3 separate regions of the Homo sapiens genome follow, and all the other regions are linked to region 1. The links are contacts of gene promoters, found by promoter capture Hi-C in human tissues and cell types (Jung and others, 2019). All regions are on one chromosome and are shown on one strand. The core of a region is centred on a gene start or on the middle of the fragment in contact, and the rest is flanking DNA. Distances in the headings are between cores, read along the strand shown.

Region 1 (4,749 bases), core at 617-3,116:
ATTAATAAAATAGAAATTAATTTTTAAAAACACTTGAGAAATTGGAATTCCCTTATGAAGGTCTTAGAACATTTTTTCTTTAAAATAGAAAGTTAGTTTAGGAAATACATTAAAGGAGTAAGAATCCCTACTTCAGTATTACAGCAGGCATTACAGTGCCACAAACATTAGTGTATCTTGCCTTCCTTGTACACAAACCATCTTTATCTGGGGAGAAAAACAACTATCCTAACATTATGTTTTGCATTTTGTATTCATTAAATGGGAGTGTGCCTTGGGGAAAGTCAAAATAGGCACAAATTTGCGATTTGAAAAGCCACCTGCTCTTCTCCCGGAGCTACCTCGCCAGCTTGGAATTACTCTCATTAATCCATGCAACACTAGCTGCTCTAAGCCCCATCCCCTCAGCTCTAGTTCATTATTAATCAAGGGTGCTTAACCTCATTCCCCATTACTCGTATTTCAACCTCAGTTCCACATTTTTTTTTTTTTATTTAGATAGATCTTCCTCTGTCGCCCAGGCTGGAGTGCAGTGGCGTGATCATAGCTCACTGCAACCTGGATCTCCTGGGCTCAAGCCATCCTCCCACCTTAGCCCCCCGAGTAGCTGGGACTACTGGCGCGCGCCACCACGCACAGCTAATTTTATTTTTTGTAGAGACGGGGCCTTCCTATGTTGGCCAGGCTGGAGTTAGGCTTTCTTTCTTTTTTTTTTTTTTTGAGACGGAGTCTCGCTCTGTCGCCCAGGCTGGAGTGCAGTGGCATGATCTCGGCTCACTGCAAGCTCCGCCTCTCCGGTTCACGCCGTTCTCCTGCCTCAGCCTCCCAAGTATATGGGACTACAGGCGCCCGCCACCACGCCTGGCTAATTTTTTTTGTATTTTTTAGTAGAGACGGGGTTTCACCGTGTTAGCCAGGATGGTCTCAATCTCCTGACCTCGTGATCCGCCCGCCTTGGTCTCCCAAAGTGCTGGGATTACAGGCGTGAGCCACCGCGCCCGGCCTCCGCTTTCAAGACTAAAAATTGCCTGGGCACTGTGGCTCAAGCCTGTAATCCCAGCACTCTGGGAGGCCGAGGAAGGTGGATCACTTGGGCTCAGGAGTTCGAGAGCTGCCTGACCAACATGGCGAAACCCCGCCTCTACTAAAAATACAAAATTAGCCGGTCCTGGTGGCACACGCCTATAATCCCAGCTACTCGGGAGGATGAGGCAGGAGAATCGCTTGAACTCAGGAGGGGGAGGTTGCAGTCAGCCGAGATCGCGCCATTGCACTCCAGCCTGGGCAACAAGGGCGAAACTCTGTCTCAAAAAAAAAAAAAAAAAAAAAAAAGACTAAAAATTGTCGGGGCTGCTGGCCAAAAGAAGATCTTGCCTGGCTGTCAGAAAATAATGTTCTTTCCAGCGGCTGCTTGAACCCGCTTCCTTCAGTGCCTAAATTTAACGGCTGCAGCTGCAGCTGCAACCTGTTTCCCCCGTAATAGGAATGAAAGTGGAGGATAAAAGAGGTTAGGAAGAAGGCAAGCCAGCAGTCTGACCAGACACAGGATGCATGTAAGAGACTTGTTAATTACACGTTCTATTTAGGTCACACTGATAGGCAAATCGCTATTCTGGGCCCCCAGGAAGCCTTTTCGTCCTTGCTATAGTCAATTCATTCTCCAGATGAAAGCCTGAAAGCGCCACGACCCAAGTTTCACGTCTATCCACTCAAGAGGCCTGCTTGGCGCAGGCGCATACCTTCAAAGGCCTCCCGCCCTCACTCCACCACCCCCTTAGGGGGCGGGGCCTCAGAGCTCAGTGCTCGAACTGGCTCCAGAGCCGTGAGTTCGGCATGCAAGAGCGGAAGAAACGCGGCTGGTACCCCGGAAGCAGTCGCTGCAACTTCCGGGAGGTGCTTGTGTGCCTGGTGCGGGAGCTACGGGGCCCAGGGATTGTGTTTAAAGTAGTGCTTCTACCAACATGTCCCGTGGTTCCAGCGCCGGTTTTGACCGCCACATTACCATTTTTTCACCCGAGGGTCGGCTCTACCAAGTAGGTGAGTGAACCAGGTTCGCCTGTGGGCCACCTGAATTGCCCTGTCATGGTACGTGCCTGGAGCGAGCAGACGCGGCCCGGGTTTAGTCTGGGGCCGAAGCTGGGCTGGAGCTGGGAAGGGAGAACGGCTGAAGCTGGATTGAGCTCTGTGGTGTTTGCACCCCCGTCTGGACGCAGGGATCGGGGGCCTGAAGGCCTGTCTCTGCAGGGCGAGCGGCCACACTGCGTAGACCCAATGGAGAGTTAAGGAAGATAGGGCTGTAATGCCTGACTCCGGCTTCGTGAGGCCCCTTCAGTTATTGTATTCTGTCCTGGCCAGGCACAAGGTCTGTTTCTAAAGGGTAATTGATTCCTTAACGTCTCAACTAAAATGCCTCCTCTCCGTTTTCCTTTGTTTGCAGCATGGACTTCTGTGGTTAATTCCACACAGGCACTCGAAGCCTGCTATATACCAGACACTGCTAGTCCTAGGAGATACAAATGTGAATGTTACACCCTCTTCTATACTGAAGCTCACAGCTTAGAGTGACAGATACGTTAAACAAACGGATAAAAAAAATTAAAAGTGCCAATTTACAAATATCTACAGAGTTCAAGACATCTTTGGGAATCTGATAGAATGAGTGACTCAATTCTAGAGCTGCTCTTGAGATTGGCATCCCCTTTTTACCCACATCTGTTTGAATGCTCCTGTAATTTAAATGCCGATTCTGAGTTGTAGATGAGGTACTGTGTACTAGTTTACTGAAGAACACCTGTAGTGGAAAGAAACTATCAGTTACTCGGAATAGTAATGTATTGCGCTGAAACGGTGTCAAGGTTTAGGTTATGATTATAAGCCAGACCCTTGATCTCTTACCATAGAGAATTTAGTGTCAGGAGGGCTTGATTTACATCTGGTCCGTGATGGTTTTATTTTTGAATGAGTTTAGTGGCTCCGTGTCTTGCACAGTAATATAATCATCTGTGCTTGGAATCATAAGGAGAGAGTTGGTCTGTAAATGAGGTTCTCTTCACCTGTAAATTTTAGAAATAGAGTTAAAGATAACTTGGAATGAAACTGCTCAGTGTATTACTGCATAGTGTATATAATGTAGCAAGAAACATCTTGTTGGATAATTCAGTAGCCCTTTTAATTTATCCCCAATTGAAAAACATGATTAAAGATAGAACAAAGAGATAACTGTATCCTCAAAGAATTTTCATTTATTGTATTAAATTCCTGAGTTTTAAATAATTTTCGTATATTAGACTACTGCTTTCAGCGTTCCATTCGTGATTTTTAATATGTGAACAGGAAAAGTCACTCTGAGACCTTTACTTTGTTTCTATATACTGTATTGTGAAGTCCAGCCATAAAGCATAATCGTTAATGCTTCCCAGATTTGGTGAGTGGAAAGGCTGAACACAGTGTCATTGTGATGGTTTTAAAAGATTTGGAAGAGAACATCTATCTGAAAACAAGTTCATTATCTAGACAGAATGATTTTTTATTTATTTTTATTTTTTTGAGACAGAGCTTCACTCTTGTTGCCTAGGCTGGAGTGCAATGGCGCGATCTCGGCTCCCCGCAATCTCCGCCTCCCGGGTTCAAGCAATTCTGCCTCAGCCTCCCAAGTACTGGGATTACAGGCATGCGCCACCACGCCTGGCTAATTTTGTATTTTTAGTAGAGACGAGGTTTCTCCATGTTGATCTCGAACTCCCAACCTCAGGTGATCCACCCACCTCGGCCTCCCAAAGTGCTGGGATTACAGGCGTGAGCACCGGGCCTAGCACCAGCCTAGACAGAATGATTTTAATCTCTGTGAATAACACACTCCCTCTGCTATTCAGGGCATTAATTAGACATTGTTAGGAAAATGAAAGTGAAAGAGTAGTATGAGCAAGCAGTATAGTGAAGAGTTCAGGCCCTGGAGTCATACATGGATTCAAATCTCTGCCCTGCTCCATACTACCTGATCTGGGCACTTGCCAGGTATGTAACCTTAGCCTTAGTTTCTCTTTCCAAAGTTGGGCTCATAATAATTCTTCCTTAAATGGTGGTTTTGAGAATTAAATAAGGCAATGTATGTAGAGTGCTTAACGTGTGCCTGCCACATAGTAAATGCTCAGTGAATGTTATTAGATGCTTGTTTGATTCTTTGGCCCCCCCTTTTTTTTTTGGTCTATTAGATTAGTAGCTCTGTATGGAATATTTCCCTTTTTATGGGTCCTTCCATGCTTAGTTCTCCAGTAAAATATATACATAATCATAATATTCTAAATACTGTCTGTTTGTAAACTTTAGAATCCTCCAAAGACAAAGCATGGAAGGATTATAGGATGCAAGTTGTTAACATTGACAGTAGGAAAATAATATTTTAAAAATGGGATGATGATGAGGGGAGATTAATGGAAGGTAACTATGCTCTTTATCTTCCATACTTGGGACTCAAAAGATAAATGTCGTCTAAAGTTGATATATCAAAAAATAGAGGTAGACATTTAAAGTTATAATGCTTGGCCAGGTGCAGTGCCTCACACCTGTAATCCCAGCACTTTGGGAGGGCGAGGTGGGCAGATTACCTGAGGTCAGGAGTTGAAGACCAGCCTGACCAACATGGTGAAACTCTGTCTCTACTAAAAATACAAAAAACTAGCTGCTTGTGCTGGCGTGCCTGTAGTCCTACCTCCTCAGGAAGCTGAGGCACAAGAATCGCTTGAACCTAGG
Region 2 (4,749 bases), core at 1,430-3,929, 390 kb after region 1:
TGCAGAAATCACTGCGCCAGTCTTGCAAGTTCCAGCCAACCACAAGATGCAAAATCACCCCATGGATAATTAAGCTGGAGTGGATAACCACTCATCAAGGGGCAAACTGTAGCCGGAACCACAGTGAGGTTGGATTATAGAGTGGAACCCCCAAGAACTATGGTCTACTAGCTGCTCAGGCTCATTCTAATCACTTCACTAACATTGCAATAATGTGACTCTGCATTTAACATGATTGAAGACTCCACTTATCACATTATGGTTGGGTTTGACTACATGTAAAAAGTTTCCAAAAAGCACAAACTACTATCTAAACACAGAATATTAGTATATTGACAAACAGGCCTTCTATTAAGCAGTGTGCTTTATATTTTCTATAATAAATACTTTGCTAAAGAAATCATAAAAATCTAGGCTAACTCTGAATGACAAAGACAGTCCACTACTTTTAACTTTTTTATTTATTTTAAAAATCACTCCAACTATCTCATGTACTCCATATACATATACATCTATTATGTTCCCATTAAAATTTTTTTTTAATCCTGCAGAAAATGTTCTAGTGCATATATATACAAAATATTGCATAAAATACTACAAGTTCACAGAGTCCTCTGAAGCTTAACCCAGTGGACCTCAGGTCAAGAAACTAATGTCTTTTCTCCCCTTCATTGTTACATAAAGATGAATGAAAAAATATACTTAAATAGTAATAAGTAATACTTAAAATCTCTCAAAATTTTAATCAAATTCTTTGAAGGCTTAAAAAATACATTTAAGAAACACATTCCCATGAATAACTTTACCAGTAATAGTTGCAACTTCAGCAGAGAAAGCTTGCTGATTAAGACTGCTTGTTTCAGAATCTATATGAAGAGTAGTTAGACTAGCCACTTCCTGCTCTTCAGCACTCTGATGATGGCCAGAACCTGAATCCACATCAGCAGAGGACGTAACCCCAGTGTCGGTTCCAAAGCCAAAATCTATAGGAAGAAGAAATGTTATTATATGAGTCCCAATTACAAAGTAAAAATATTTACGAGAGCTAAATCAGCAAAATGATCAAACATAAACATTCCCCGTACATCTATTCTGTTTACATATCACTCAGACAAGTGTAAATAATCTTAATACTCTGAAGATTATAAGTAGATCGGGATAGTGTACAAGCCATGAAGGGAGGAAACATGTAATTCTCCAATGCATATCCCAGCTCTTCACAAACTTAGTTCCCAAGGTTTTGACTTCTTTTTTAAAAATTTGGTGCCCTTCACTGACTGCCAAGTGCAATATAGAATTATAGCTGAATAACTAAGTGGTAATAATATAGCACCAAATAATATTACTGATGTTATTGTAACAAGGGGCAATTATTCAAAGGAAGTTCTGGGTACTGTAGCATTGAACATAATCCAAATATTTGGTTCTCAAATATGAGTGTGTGAAACAGTGGCAACTCATAATCATGACTGGCTTTTTAGTAACAGGTCTATCCTAAATTATTTTCCTTTCTACAGTTTTGGTCTTAAAAATGTCATTTCTTTTAAGAAGGGATCACATTTTTTGTTTTTTAAATGCTCTTAATTTGGCAACATAAAGTAGCTTCAACTTAAGGTGATTCCCTAAAACTTCCTTTGAAATTTCACTGAAAATTGAAATAAAAATAAGTGGGGCCAAGAATGATGCCTTGCACCTGTAATCCCAGCTACTCGGAAGGCTGACGCAGGAGGACTGCTTCAGGCCAGGAGTTCAAGACTAGCCCAGACAACATAGCAAGACCAAATATCTAATTTTTTTTTTTCTAACGTGGGAGCCACTGCCTAAGTAACACTGGAGAGGAAGGTGATGGCTACATAATCCGTAAGTCAGTCTTGAACAGAAGACAATCAACATAAAACATAGTATTCAAATAGAAAAGATACTTGCTGTCAAATTTTCGGCCATCATATTGGAAAGCGCTGAAAGAATCCGAATGACTATCTGAGCTGATAAGATCACTGCTCCCTGCACTGGCAGGAGAAGTCCATTCTGAGGGCACACCTGGGTCATCAATAGGGCGCATCTGGTTCTGCTTGTTTAGAATATCAGGGAGGTCTTTGGGAATTTCCAGGCTGCCTGGACTACTTCCTCTTCTTGTCATAGTCTAAACGTTCAAGAAATATTTTACCATTAAGAAAAAGCTTTTATTCTCTTTAACCATCTGAAACCTTTAATTTCCAAACCATCACAATAAATGCTGAGATTTAGAGGCTGAAGTAGGAGTGGAGAACACACTCACCAAACAATCTATGTAACTGAATGGAGCTAGAGCCTGACCTATTGTTGGTCTGCCTAAAGACCCAAATATCACATGATGCTGGGCCTGTGACTCTTAAGCCTCAGCAGGATCCATGCAGTGAATATAAATTAAAACAGCAGAAAGAGTATTTAGTGGAAAAAAAGCAGCAAATAAAAAAGACAGTGGAAGAGTGGAAAGAATGACAGCAAAGATGTCATTCAATGATTTTTATCCACTCAAGGGAAAAAAGTAAGCCTAAAAAGAAAGGGGCGGGGTATATAATGGAGTTATAGAGAAGTCAAACCCAAATGAAATATGACAGTTTAAAAAAAGCAATTCCAGGTCCAGCACAGTGGCTCACTCTGGTAATCCCAGCACTTTGGGAGGCTGAGGTGGGCAGATCACCTGAGGTCAGGAGTTCGAGACCAGTCTGGCCAACATGGTGAAACCCTGTCTCTACTAAAAATAGAACAATTATCCAGGCATGGTGGTGTGCACCTGTAATCCTAGCTACTCAGGGGGCTCAGGCAGGAGGATTGCTGGAACCCGGGAGACGGAGGCTGCAGTGAGCACTGCACTCCACCCTGGGCGACAAAGCGACACTCTGTCTCAAAAGAAACTAGTTCCATATATATTTATCCTTCCCTAACAATTAAGCATTATTAGGGATAAAAGAGCTTCTGCTTTCATGTTGCCATACTCCTAACATTCAAGATAAAGATAACTTTTAAGTCTCTTCCAAAGTTATCTAAAATGGTTAAGCAGTATTTGTGCTAGCAAAACTATGGGAGCTGGTTCACAAGCAGATCTTGAGACAAAAATAAAAATTATATATGTATTTTTATTTTAAATTATATATTAGATTATATTTATTTATTTATATAACTACGGGAGCTGGGGCAGAAGACCTCCATTGCTATCTTTCCCATTGAGGGCTTGCAGCTGGCACCAGGGTAACCTACGAGCAAAGACAAAAAAAGGGGAGACTAGGAAGGTAGTTGCTTATACCTGTGTATTTGTGCACAGGTACCTGTCTGATCTTTCACCCTGGTGAAAATTATGAGGCTGTTTATGTCTTTAGATAAAAAATGTTATAAAAATGTAATTCAAAAATCTTAATTCATAAAAAGGGTTATATTTTGAGGAAAGGTTATTTTGAATAAAAATTCCCATATATAAATTGACATATATGTACATAGGTATATATCTGTTAGTTTTTCTACCCTCCTCTATAAAACCAAATATATAAAATAAAACTTACCGAGGCATTACCACTTCGAAGTCGTTCTGCTATAAACTCATCCATCAGATCAGGAACATTAGCACTGCTGCCGCCAATATCACTATTAAGAGGAGGCAGTTTTTGGCTCATGTCCTCTTTATTGACTAAAAATAAATAAATAACTATATATAGTGAGGAAAAACTTAACTGCATTTTCTAACTTTGAAACAAACAACAACCCAAAACAAAGTACCTTTGCCAATTATTTGCCAAACATGCATTTATGAATAATTTCCCTTCTTTCAGATTTAATTTTAAGAATTAGTAAATTGATATTTACTTTATTTAACTAAGCAGATGTTAGTCAATCTTCAGTGTAACTTTAAACAGCAAGAAAGCTTATAGATAAGCACTAGCTGAAGTTAGGTTAATATTGCCTATAAAGAAACTGGTATATTTATCTTTTTTCCTGACTCAATGTTTCTTTTTAGAGCCTTAACAATTTATAATTCCGTATTTCCCCCAAAGAACGTTTGCAGGGAATACATCCTTTGAATCTATGCAAAACTCAGTGGGATACAAATGCATTTGAGTATTTATAAATACAAATTCTATGGTTTTGATATACTGCTGTTTCTATCCACTATAAAATCTAATTTTAATGCTTTAAGAATAAAAAGTTGACTTCCACAAATGTTTTTCTTACCAAAAAAACCCAAAATAGTTATTTTGATTTTTTTATCACTACATTATTATTATTTTTACCATTTACATTAACAAGAAAGTTTTAGACTTGGGAAACTAACTTATAGAAAATAATATGGTATCTATGTCACTACTATGCTATTGAAAAGTTGATTTCTCTGCAATGAAAGGAAAATGAGCACTGTTTATATTCCTAATAAACTACAAAGTATTTCAGATTAAAAAAACACACTGGTCAGAAGCTCACTGTGAAATACCATTATCTTTATATTACTGGCCAGGCTTTGCTAAGCTGTCAAATACTGCCCTCAGGTGGCATTAATGGCTCAATGCAAGATGCATTATACAGCGTTGTTAATCATGCTAACAAAACCATGTTAAAACAAATAAAATCAAAACCAACCTTACTGCTGAAAGTTAATAGTCTATATATGTAAAGTTATTTTAACTTTGACTCAAGATAGAGAAAACAGTTACCATAATCTTGCTTTCTGTTATCTGTCCATAGAGGTTCCATATTTAAATCATGAGTGGCTACTGTGAA
Region 3 (4,749 bases), core at 1,662-4,161, 290 kb before region 1:
TTTTTAGTAGAGACGGGGTTTCTCTATGTGGGTCAGGCTGGTCTTGAACTCCTGACCTCAGGCGATCCGCCCGCTTCGGCCTCCCAAAGTGCTGGGATTATAGGTGTGAACCACTGCACCTGGCCAGGACCTATTTTTATTGTAGACTTTACTGAATATACATAATTCTGAGTGCAGATATGAAAGCTAGTACTATTCCTGCAAAAAATGCCAAAGCCAAGATGCGATGAGTGAAATTTCACTACAGATTTGTTGATGGAAGGGCCTAAGTTTTTCCTCGTTCACTATCATGTTTTGCCTAGTGATGGTCCTGCTTTTGTATGGCAAAGTCACATATAGCAAGTATTCTTTTCTACACTGTTCGTTGTGTAAGGAATTCCCTTTGCAAAGACCATGTATCCCAATTCTTGCCTAGATTATGAGCAATTTTGAATTAGTGAAAGTTTTATTTTCAAATAGTAAATATAGCCAGTTGCCCTGCCTCACCTTATTGCTGATCATGCAAATTATGGTGAAAATCTTAGAGCTTAAAAAATATATATGGGCTCAGTTGTAGAAAAAAAAAGAAAGGAGCTGTTAAAAAAATTATTTTAGTCCAGGCATGGTGGCTCATGCCTGTAATCACAGTGCTTTGGGAGGCGGAGGTGGGAGGATTGCTTGAGGCCAGGAGTTTGAGACCAACCAGGGCAACATAGTGAGAACCAGTCTCTATAAAAAAAAAAAAAATTGATAAAAATAGCTGGTGCAGGCCGGGTGCAGTGGCTCACATCTGTAATCCCAGCACTGTGGGAGGCTGAGATGGGTAACCACCTGAGGTCAGGCGTTCGAGACCAGCCTGGCCAACATGGTGTAACCCCATCTCTGCTAAAAATACAAAAATTAGCCGGGCATGGTGGTGCACATCTGTAGTTCCAGCTACTCCGGAGGGTGAGGCAGGAGTATTGCTTGAGCCCAGGAGTTCGGGGGTGCAGTGAGCCGTGATTGTGCCACTGCACTCCCGACTGGGGGAGAGGGTGAGACCCTGTCTTTAAAAAAAAACAAACAAAAAAAATTTTTTAGAGCATTAGATGCCCACTAGTTCTACAATCATTTTTCCCCCACATTGTTTGAATATTTTCTTTTTTTTTTTTTGACTCTCCCTCTGTCACTCAGGCTGAAGTGCAATGGCATGATCTCTGCTCACTGCAACCTCTGCCTGCCAGGTTCAAGCAATTCTCCTGCCTCAGCCTCCCAAGTAGCTGGGATTACAGGTGTGTGCCACCACGCCCAGCTAATTTTTTTTTGTATTTTTAGTTGAGATGGGGTTTCACCATGTTGGCCAGGATGGTCTCTATCTCTTGACCTAGTGATCTGCCTGCCTTAGCCTCCCAAAGTGCTGGGACTACAACCATGAGTCACTGTGCCTGGCCTCCTTTTTTTTTTTTTTTTTTTTTTTTAAGAGACAGTCTGACTCTGTTACCCAGGCTGGAGTGTAGTGGTGCAATCATGGCTCACTGTAGCCTCAACCTCCTGGGCTCAAACAATCCTCCTGCCTCAGTGCCCCCCAAGTAGCTGGGGCTACAGGTACATGCCACCACGCCCAGCTAGTTTTTGCATTTTTTGTAGAGACAAGGTTTTGCCATGTTGCCCTAGCTGGTCTTGAACTCCTGACCTCAAGTGATCCACCTGCCTTGGCCTCCCAAAGTGTTAGGATTACACATGTCAGCCACTTTGCCTGGCCAGAAATTTTTATTGTTAGGGGCTCGTAACTGTAGGCAATTCTGGAGCATCAAGTGCTTTATTAAGAAGCATTTATTGAGTACCTACTTTATTTCAGGAAGTATGCCAAATGCTGCTGATAGCAGAAATAAATGAGACTGGTTCTTATACTCAGATGCTTATGGTCTAGAGGAATGGTGTACAAAGCAAGGTCAAAATTATTTTCATAATACTAAGACATTATTTGACTTTTGTACTATGTTGACATTTGCACTGAAAACAATGGTAGGTAAAACTCCCTGGTATGAATCAAGGCAGTGGCACCAGATGATACTAGTAGTTTCTGGACTCTCTATTTATTTATTTATTTTTGAAGACAGAGTCCCTGTCATTCAAACTAGAGTGCAGTGGCGTGATCAGAGCTCACTGCGGCCTCAAATTCCTGGGCTCGAGCGATCTTCTCTCCTCAGCCTCCAGAGAAGCTAGGACTACAGGCATGCACCACCATGTTTTTTGTTTGTTTGTTTTTTGTTTTTTTGGTTTTTTTGGTTTTTTTTTTTTTTGAGACAGGGTCTTACTCTGTTGCCCAGGCTGGAGTGCAGTGGTGTGATCATGGCTTGCTGCAGCCTCATCCTCCCTGGGCTCAGGTGATCCCTACACCTGAGCCTCCTAGTAGCTGGGACTACTACTCTTTGAGCCCAGGAGTTTGAGACCAGCCTGAGCAACATGGTGAAACCCCATCACTACAAAAAATACAAAAATTAGCTGGGAACGATGGCTTACACCTGTAAACCGAGTTACTCGGGAGGGTAAGGTGGGAGAATCGCTTGAATCCGGGAGGTGGAGGTTGCAGTGAGCCGAGACCACGCCACTGCACTCCAGCCTGGGTGACAGAGCGAGACCTGTCTCAAAATAAATAAATAAATAAATAAATAAAGCTTCCAGGCATGGTGGCGCATGCCTGTAATCCCAGTACTTTGGCAGGCCAAGGCAGGTGGATCACCTGAGGTCAGGAGTTTGAGACCAGCCTGACCAACATGGTGAAACTCCGTCTCTACTAAATAAAAAAAAAAAAAATTAGCCATGTCTAGTGGCACATGCCTGTAATCCCAGCTACTTGGGAGGCTGAGGCAGGAGAATGGCTTGAACCTGGGAGGCAGAGGTTGCAGTGAGCTGAGATGACACCATTGCACCCAGCCTAGGCCACGAGAGCGAAACTCCATCTAAAATAAAAATAAAAAGGACTTGTATCTATCATCTGTCTCTATCATGAGTTTGACAGTATCCCAGTACTTAGTTTTCTGATGAGGGTCAGTATTGATATTAATGAATAAAGTTTTTTGATTATGTATAGTGAAATATGTCAATGACGAGAGATCTGCCTAACTCAGTGAACCAATGTTTTGTGAATAGCTAGTGCGTGATGTTACAAGATCATTTACCAGTATAAGATTCATTTAAAATGCAAGATGGAATCACAGATTTTAATGTAACGAGTATAAAAGTTTATATGGTTTCAGATTCTACATTGCAGCTAACCTTTACAAACTACCATGATTATAAAGAAGCCCTGAGACCAAGAAGTTGAAAACTGCTGTTCTTGATGGTGGGAGGAAGAGAAGACAAATTTATAAAATTATTTACTAAAACATATATGTTCCAAATAATGGGTCCATAGAGAGCTGGGAGTTTTTGCCATGACATGTAGAAAATGGAGATGAATGTGGAGCAGCATCAGTGTACTGAAAGGATCTATGAGGAAGGGAAGTGGATTTATGTTTAAGACAGATTTTGCCTATTTCAAAAGTTTGCCTAAGGGTAGGTTGATGCCTAGGAAAGGTATAAGAAAATGTATTTTCCTCTCTTCTCTACCTCATGGCTTTCCTTGAAATTCAAGTATAATATAGATGATGTAATTTTTATGGATGGCTTGGCAGACTTTCTCTCAAAGGTTTAGACTTTGTGGACCACGTGATTTCTATTGCAACTACTCAGCTCTGCTGTTGTGGCACAAAAGCAGTAAATGGGTCAGGCACAGTGGCTTATACCTGTAATCTCAGCACTTCAGGAGGCCAAGGCTGGAGGATTACTTGAGGCCAAGAGTTCAAAACCAGTCTGGGCAACATAGCAATACTCCATCTCTACAAACAAATACTAAAGTTAGCCAGACATCATGGCATATGCCTGTAGTTCCAGCTACTCAGGAGGCTGAGATGGTAGGATCGCTTGAGTCCAAGAGTTCGAGACTGCAGTAAGCCATGATTGATTGTACCAGTGCATTCTAGCCTGGGTAACAGAGTAAGACCCTGTCTCAAAAAAACAAAAAAAGTGGTAAATGAATGGGCATGACTGTATTAGATTGAAATTTTTTTCAATGTAATAACTAGAAATGTAATAACTTTACAGCCTGTTGCCCAGGCCGGAGTACAGTGGCCTGATGATAGCTCATTGCAGTCTCAAACTCCTGGGCTCAAGCAATCTTACTGCCTCAGCCTCCTTGATTAGCTGGGACCACAGGTGCGTGCCACCACACCTGGCCAATTCTTTAAATTAGTAGAGACAAGATCTTGCTATGCTGCCCAAGCTGGTCTCAAACTCCTGGTCTCAATGAATCCTCCTCCTTTGTCCCCCCGCTGAAAGGGCCGGGATTATAGGCATGAGCCACCACACCCAGCCTCCATTGAAACTTTATTTGCACATAGTTTACCAACCCCTGATCTAGGACATTAACTATTATAGATTTATTATTTTATCATACATTTCAAGCTCCAAACAACTGACCCCCAAGTGAATTATTTTTTAAATGTCCCATGCTTTTTTTTGTTTTTGTTTTTGAGATGGAGTCTCGCTCTGTCACCCAGGCTGGAGTGCGGTGGCGCGATCTCGGCTCACTGCAAGCTCCGCCACCCGGGTTCATGCCATTCTCCTGCCTCAGCCTTCAGAGTAGCTGGGACTACAGGCGCCTGCCACCACGCCCGGCTAATTTTTTGTATTTTTAGCAGAGATGGGGTTTCACCGTGTTAGCCAGGATGGTCTCAATCTCCTGACCTT

The links. Contacts are between HindIII fragments. The study calls those that stand out against the background at their distance.
Region 2: a contact is called between a fragment that was not itself captured here and the fragment with the promoter of PSMA6 in region 1, in 1 of the 25 tissues and cell types used here (dorsolateral prefrontal cortex).
Region 3: a contact is called between a fragment that was not itself captured here and the fragment with the promoter of PSMA6 in region 1, in 1 of the 25 tissues and cell types used here (mesendoderm cells).

What each region holds. Positions count from the first base shown.
Region 1 is chr14:35,290,516-35,295,264 of GRCh38, forward strand. It overlaps PSMA6 (proteasome 20S subunit alpha 6), which reads left to right and starts at 1,867. Exons shown (of 7, transcript NM_002791.3): 1 at 1,867-2,037. The coding sequence starts at 1,962. All of the region lies in intron 9 of PRORP-PSMA6 (PRORP-PSMA6 readthrough), which reads left to right. RefSeq lists enhancers at 1,568-2,154, 1,871-1,950, 2,071-2,190, 2,271-2,330, 3,784-3,963. The HindIII fragment of the contact is 27,585 bases long and covers 1-4,749 here.
Region 2 is chr14:35,683,003-35,687,751 of GRCh38, forward strand. RALGAPA1 (Ral GTPase activating protein catalytic subunit alpha 1) reads right to left here. Exons shown (of 42, transcript NM_001346249.2): 19 at 3,540-3,664; 20 at 1,927-2,143; 21 at 807-983. Among named protein-coding and RNA genes, the nearest start is that of SNORA101B, 78 kb to the right of the region's middle. The HindIII fragment of the contact is 3,903 bases long and covers 729-4,631 here.
Region 3 is chr14:35,001,326-35,006,074 of GRCh38, forward strand. All of the region lies in intron 4 of SRP54 (signal recognition particle 54), which reads left to right. Among named protein-coding and RNA genes, the nearest start is that of SRP54, 21 kb to the left of the region's middle. The HindIII fragment of the contact is 3,646 bases long and covers 1,089-4,734 here.